Regions from separate parts of the Homo sapiens genome. Here region 2 is linked to region 1. Evidence: promoter capture Hi-C in human tissues and cell types (Jung and others, 2019). All regions are on one chromosome and are shown on one strand. Each heading gives the region's core, a stretch centred on a gene start or on the middle of the fragment in contact. The rest is flanking DNA. Distances are from core to core; before and after follow the strand shown. Region 1 holds the start of PPP3CB (protein phosphatase 3 catalytic subunit beta). Region 2 has its middle 17 kb from the start of CHST3.

What was found. The method cuts DNA at HindIII sites, captures the fragments that hold promoters and counts their contacts. A contact is called where the count stands out against the background at its distance.
Region 2: a fragment that was not itself captured here is called in contact with the fragment with the promoter of PPP3CB in region 1 in 1 of the 25 tissues and cell types used here (dorsolateral prefrontal cortex).

The regions. Positions count from the first base shown.
Region 1 is chr10:73,494,435-73,497,872 of GRCh38, reverse strand. It overlaps PPP3CB (protein phosphatase 3 catalytic subunit beta), which reads left to right and starts at 1,849. Exons shown (of 14, transcript NM_021132.4): 1 at 1,849-2,068. The coding sequence starts at 1,984. It overlaps PPP3CB-AS1 (PPP3CB antisense RNA 1), which reads right to left and starts at 2,121. Exons shown (of 5, transcript NR_132104.1): 1 at 2,056-2,121; 2 at 1,390-1,731. It overlaps USP54 (ubiquitin specific peptidase 54), which reads left to right. Exons shown (of 24, transcript NM_001391956.1): 24 at 1-335. RefSeq lists enhancers at 1,643-1,832, 2,323-2,782 and a silencer at 1,913-2,262. The HindIII fragment of the contact is 7,291 bases long and covers 1-3,438 here.
Region 2 is chr10:71,945,350-71,948,787 of GRCh38, reverse strand. No RefSeq gene overlaps it. Among named protein-coding and RNA genes, the nearest start is that of CHST3, 17 kb to the left of the region's middle. The HindIII fragment of the contact is 4,623 bases long and covers 1-3,438 here.

The DNA of each region.
Region 1 (3,438 bases), core at 600-3,099:
TCTCCCATCCTTGGGGGGACATGTAGCCCTGTGGTCATGGTTCTGATGACATCATCAGGGCAGCCCCCCTGCCCAGGTATTATGGCCTGTCAGCATTCCCTGTGCCCTCCAAACCTTAGGCCTAGAATGCGGAGCTGCCAACATAACATTCACCCTTTTGAACAGATGGAGTCAGGCACACTAACACAGCCTTCTGTCCTCAATAACACAGCCATTATTGCCACTTGCTCAGTCGTCAATGTAAACCCTCAGAGTCAGCTGAACTATTTTAGGCCAAACATACTGTTTTTGTAAAGTATTTTTCATTAATAAATCTATAAGACAGTTCTATTTAATTCCTTGTCATTCTTCCCTTTGTATGCTCTTGCTTTCTTTGTATTGGGGCTGGAAGTCTGGATAAATATATGAAGTGGCTTTTGACTGAGTGGAAGTGAGGAGCCAGAGACGAGTTGAAGGATATACAATCAAGGTGGGAATCAATGGGTCCTAAAATAGGGTGCCTTTCCTTTCTAGTATTGCTGCTAGGATGTTTCCCATCCCTTTCCTGACAGAGCATTCAGTACTCAGTACATTATACACTTCCTTCCTCCCCTCCTTAGGAAGATTTTCTGGGGATTCAAGCTCTTCTTACAGACTCACTCCTGATCAATGTACTCCAGGTGCCTTCCCTCTATCTTATAAGTTTGTGACGTGCCTCCTGTCCCTTCCTTCCTCTCCTTCCGTGGGGGCCTCTCCCTTTCCCTTCCCCTGTGGTGTTATGGCCCTTCCATGCCAGAAAGATCCATTTTCACCTGTGCCTCACTCCCGAGACTCTTCCCTCTAAAAAATAGCTTGTGGGTTCCCTTTTTGGAAAAAATCCATTGTTGGGTCTTTCCCTTCCTCTTTTCCTGGGGTCTCAGGATAGAAATTGACACAAAGAAGAGGTAGAAAGGTACTCCTTGGACCTTCGGACTACTACTTACTTACCACCATGCATTATGAACAGATTCTGAGCACATGTATTATTGAGCAGGAGGATGGGCAGGAATTGGTTGTTCCATCCCACTTGGATCCTGCACCATCAAGATATATAGAGCTTAGTGGATATGCTGGTCCCTGTCCATGATTCAACATATCTCCTGGTGTCGTGGACACACTCATCTAATAATTTTTGATGAACAGTCAGTTCTTGCCCCTCTACCCCCTTTCCCATGAGTGTCAGTCACCGTGGTCTCTATAAAGGTTCCATAAGTCACCTGGGCCCAGATTCTGTGCATGTGCAGAAATAAGGAATTAATTTCCAATTCCCTATTTACTCCTCTGCCTTCCAGGAGGAGGTTGTATCCTTTTCAGGTGAATTCTTCAGATTCTTTGCACATCTCTTGGTGTCATCCCCTTTATTCCCCTTACCTGTTTTGACAAACTATGGCGCCTAAATTGCTCTAGCTGCAGTCTTATTCTGTGCTTTCAGACTCTTGACAATTCCAGACTCTAAACACAAAGGCCAGAATTCTCTTTCAAACTCCATTTTGGATGGTCCCTTCTCCACTCTAGAACCTACAATGCTTCCTCTATTCTCTGGTCCCCTACCAACCCTTCAGTATTCAGATCTGGTAGCTAAATCGTTATACATTTCTCTATTAGTAGGAGATCCTGAGGTTTAATCACGTCTTCTCAGTTTACTGGGAATGCCATGAGAGCGGGTGTGTTTCCTCGCAGTCGTTCGATCGCAGCACCTCCTCATTCTTCATTCTGCATGCAAAGAATTTTAACCTGATCCCTTGGCCTCGTCCTGTTTCTCTCCTAGCTTCAGTAATTTTGCCCAAGTCCCTAGAGCCTACCCCGCCCCCACCCCCGCACGCGCAGTGCATGCCGGTCTTAGCCCCTCTGTAGGGAAAGAGGGTCCGCCATGTTCCCCGGCGGCGCCGCCGCTTGGCTCTGGTAGCCGCCGCCCCCGCCCCCAACCCCGCCCGGCCCAGAGCCTAGCCGAGCCCCGGGCCCAGCATGGCCGCCCCGGAGCCGGCCCGGGCTGCACCGCCCCCACCCCCGCCCCCGCCGCCCCCTCCCGGGGCTGACCGCGTCGTCAAAGGTGAGAGGTGGACGAAACCCTGGGGGCCTGGCCTGAAGAGCTAGCTGTGTGTGAGGGCGGGCGGGAGACCGTCCCCTCGGGAGTGGGCCCGGAAGGGCGGGCGAGTGACTGGCTGCCTCCCTTGGGGAGTGGCCCCTGGGCGGGCCCCTGCTGGGCAGGGCTGAGTCGGTGGCAGTGGTTCCGCGGTCTCCCGGTTGCTTTCAGGCCGGGGCGGAGGTTTTGCTTCCGTGGCTTCCTAGCCCAAGGGGTGAGGCTGTTAGCTGCAGTGAGCCCGTTTTCTCTTCACTCGGCCTGTCAAAGCGGCGCAGGGGCCGCGATTAGCTTCCTGCCCCGCGACAGCTGCACTTCTGGCTTGCCGGGGCGAACCGAGGGGCTCGGAGACCTTCAGCCACGCGAGGCCCGCCAGTGAGCAGTCAGAAATCACCTCGGCTTTGGCCCACGCCTGCTCCCCGGTGACAGTCGTCCGCCCTATCCGCGTCTAGCTGGCGACAACCGCAGGGGTTCACTTTTGGCCGTCAGGTGCCACCCGGAGCAGAAATTAGGGGAACCTTGTGGGATTGGATCACGGTGAAGGGTCGGGGCAGGAATTGGAAGGCCAGCCTTTATAGTGCAGAAAGGGAGAAAAAGCAGCATAAACGAAAAAAAAAATTCTTGTGGATAGCAAGTATTTACTTAGAAAACCATCAACACTTTGGTCAAAAGGAGTTACCCCTCCCTTACAAACACACACCCACACATTCATCCTAGACGAAAAAGTTAAATGTTTCTCAGCCAGGGCAGAATTTATGGATGTTTACCCACAACAGGTCAGCAGATTAATTTAAAATAGAGAAATTGAGGGCTAATTGAGAGTTGCTTAAGATTCCAAGCTTCCTGGGAGAGCCTACCAACCTCAAACACTGCTGTGGAGGTGAAAAACAATTGAAATGATTCTCTTTACCATGTAGCTTGATTGATAAATTGAAATCGTAGAATGAACTTTTCCTTATTTGTATTGTATTTATTTTTAAAATATAGGTACTTTTGTTTTCATTCAGCTTCTCAAATACACTGGCACAGTATTTAAACACCGTTAGCCTACTTTTTGAAATCTGACTCATATGTTTCCATTAAAATATTTAAAAACAAGGAAACCTTTTTTCTTTTTTTTTTTTAATTAAAAATTTTCAACCTGAGCCTTCTTCGGTTCTTAAAAGAATAATACTAATTTGGCCTGGCGTGGTGGCTCACATCTGTAATCCCAGCACTTTCGGATGCTGAGGCAGGCGGATCGCTTGAACTCAGGAGTTGGAGACCAGCCTGGGCAACATGGCGAAACCTTTTCTCTACCAAAAATACAAAAAATAAAAATTAGCCGGGCATGGTGGCGC
Region 2 (3,438 bases), core at 466-2,965, 1.5 Mb after region 1:
TGTCTGCATCTTCAGCAGCCCTGGCTGCCCTCACCCCACCCCACCCTACCGGTGGCCTCTGCCTTGGAATCAGTCTGCCTGCTCTCCAACAGCTTTTCAGCGCTCTTCTGTCTCAGATGGGAGGGCCATGGTTCAGCCTCACAAGTTTGTCAAGAAGCCACATTCTAACTGCACCTGCTGGCCTTATAAGGGGGCTTTCCACTGGGACATTTGGAGTGTTGTATTTTATTGCGGGAACTTTGTGATGCACCTCAGGGATACAAAGGTCAAATGCCAGAACTGTGTCACCATCAAATTAAGGAGAAAAGGACTGTGCTGCTGTTTTGGGGCAGAGTGGTGGTGGGATGAAAAATTCCCGTGTTAACCCACCCCTTGTTGAGCACATACTGGATGCCGGGTCCACAGGGGAAACAAGCCTTAGTCCTACTCTGTCTAGAGAAGACACACATACGTCTTAACAAATACTAATGAGAAAATGTGCACATGAGGTGAGGCTGGGGAGGGGTTTCCAGAGCAGAACCACAGGCTAGCACAACTCCAGGGGGTGCCAGGCACCCCTGGAATTGTACAATGCTGCAGCCTTATTTCTGGAGCTGAACCCTGGCCTGGGCTTGAGAGATGAACAGGAGTTCTAGAGGCAGAGAACAGGTAGAGGTGGGACAAGGGCTTTTCTAGAATCTTCTGATCTGTAGTCAGATGTGTTATCCATTGCACCACTGGCCCCTCCAAGGGCTTTCCAGATGAAGGAACCAGTAACAAAAAGAAAAAACAGGTGTGAAAGGACATTCGTTCTCCAAGCTGTGGACTGGCATGACAGCTAATGCTTGGGCCTCCAGTGATGGTATCTTGAGTGCAAATGAGAGCTAGAGGGTCTGATCCAGGACATAGGGAATTTTTGTCCTAAAATAGTTTCCAGGCTCAATTTCTTCCCACAGTTTCTCAACCAAGAGAATTAGTCTCATTTTCTACCCTGTTTGAAAAATGGAAAGAACTTTCCTGGCCAGAGGCAGAATTGCATAGTGGTTAAGAATATGGGAGCTTGAGTGGCCCCTGGGGATGATGGCTCATACCTGTAATCTGAGCACTTTGGGAGGCTGAGGCAGGAGAATCTCTTGAGCACAGGAGTTTGGGACCTGGACAACATCTCAAGACCCCATCTCTACAAAAAAATTTACAAAATAGCCAGGTGTGGTGGTGCATGCCTGTGGTCCCGGCTACTCGGGAGGCTGAGGTGGAGGACCACTTGAGCTCAGGAGTCCTAGGTTGAAGTGAGCCAAGATCACACCATTGCACTCCAACCTGGGTGACAGAGTGAGACCCTGTCTCAAAAAAAAAAAAAAATAAAAAGAAAGAGCTTGAGCACTATTTTAAACAAGCAATCCAAGTTACTATCACTAATAAGGGGACAAACCTCCTGATGCGATGCACTAAGAATACAACATTGAATGTGAGGTATTCCTGAAAAAAATGCATTGCTTGAATGGAATTATGAGGAAACATCAAACAGACTCAAACTGTTTACAAAACAAAGGATGTTTACAAAACAACTAGCCTGCAATATTTAAAATGCCAAGGACATGAAAGACAATAAAAAGGCTAAGAAACTGTTCCAGATCAGAAGAGACTAGAGACATAAACATGTGATAGGCAGATGTCAGTGATGAGATATCACTTCTGAGATTAGGTTACAAAGGACTGAGACTTCCATCTTGCTAGAATTCTCTTTCTGGCTCTTCTCAGCTTGCTTGTTCTGGTGAAGCAAGCTGCCAAATTGTGAGCTGCCCTCTGGAGAGGCCCATGTTTCAAGGAACTGAGGAATTCCTAGCCAACAGCCAGCCAGGAACTGAAGCCCTAAATCCAACAGTCTGCAGTGACCTGAATCCTGCCAACAATCACTGAATGAGCTTGGAAGCAGATCGTATTGCACTTGAATTCTGAGATGACTGTGGCCGACACCTTGGTTGCAGTCTTGTGAGAGACCCTGAGCTCAAGAGCCCAGCTAAGCCATGTCTAGATTCCTGACCCATGGAAACGGAGATGACAAATATTGTTTTGAGCTACCAAGTTTGTTGTGCAGCTAAATTTAACTAATACAACAACTAAATGCATCCTGAACTAGATCCTGAAACTGAAAAAAAGGATTACTGTGAAAGACACTATTTAGATAATTGGTAAAATATGAATAGGGACAAAATAGATAATATTGTCTCAATGTTAACTTTCCTGAGTGATAGCTGTACTGTGGTTTTATAAACAGAAGTTTTGTTCATTAAAGATTTTGTAGCAGGACCGGTCTTAGACAAGACCTCTCGGACACCAGTTTTAGGAAGGAATAGGCTTTAATCAGCTGGGAGCATTGGTAGACTCGTGTCTCAAGATCTGAGCTCCCCGAAGTCAAGATTCCTGTCCCTTTTAAGAGCTTACAACTAACTAAGGTGTCCAAGTGAAAGGGTCATGATACATTGTGCAAGCGGGGGCTACGTGACTGGGGCTGCATGCACCGGTGATCAGAACAGAACTGAACCGAACAGGGAGTTACACAATGCTCCCTCATGCAATGTCTGGAATCTATAGGTAACATAAGCGATTAGGTCAGGGGTCAATCTTTAACTACTAGGCCTGGGGTGTGGTGATGGGCTGTCTGACTATTGAATTTCACTTCTGCCTTTTCTTTAACTCCTACTTTCTCTTTCCTTTGAGGCAGAAATTAGGCAGAAGACAATATGAGACGTGGTCTCCTCCCTTAGTCCCCCCTTTGAGAACCTCACTTATTAGTGGGAGTTCTCATCTTCATCTTCACTATCTAGGTTTTCTTGTAAGACAGATCAATAGCAATTCATGTAGTACACTTGTGCTGAAGTATTTTGATGGACTAAGTTGTAACAAAACTTTTTATTACTTGAAGGAGCAAGGGCAGCACACAGGGAAGCAACAGGCAGGTTCCTATTATAATTTCTATTATAAGAGTTTTAAATCCTCTTAGCACTGGAAACCATTTTCTAAACATGGTCCCAGGATCAAACCCATGCCACACTTGCACGGGCACAAGTGCCAGCTTTGTTATATCTTTAACTATATTTTTAACTACTTGCCCTTTATGTGCAGGCAGCAATTGGTTAGGTTAAATTTCCCACAAACTCCTCTTTCAGCTGCTAGCAAGTAACCTAGGGCTAGTCTATTCTGATAAATGGCATTTCTCATCAGGGTTTCTTGCCTGGCTAAAACGGTCAAAGCTCTGCCAGTTTCATTAGTGATTATTTCTTTTTTTTTTTTTTGAGATGGAGTCTCACTCTGTCACCCAGGCTGGAGTGCAGTGGCACGATCTTGGCTCACTGCAAGCTCCGCCTCCCAGGTTCACACCATTCTCCTGCCTCAGCCTCCCAAGTAGCTGGGACTACAGGTGTCTGCCACCACACCTGGCTAATTGCTTTTTTGTAT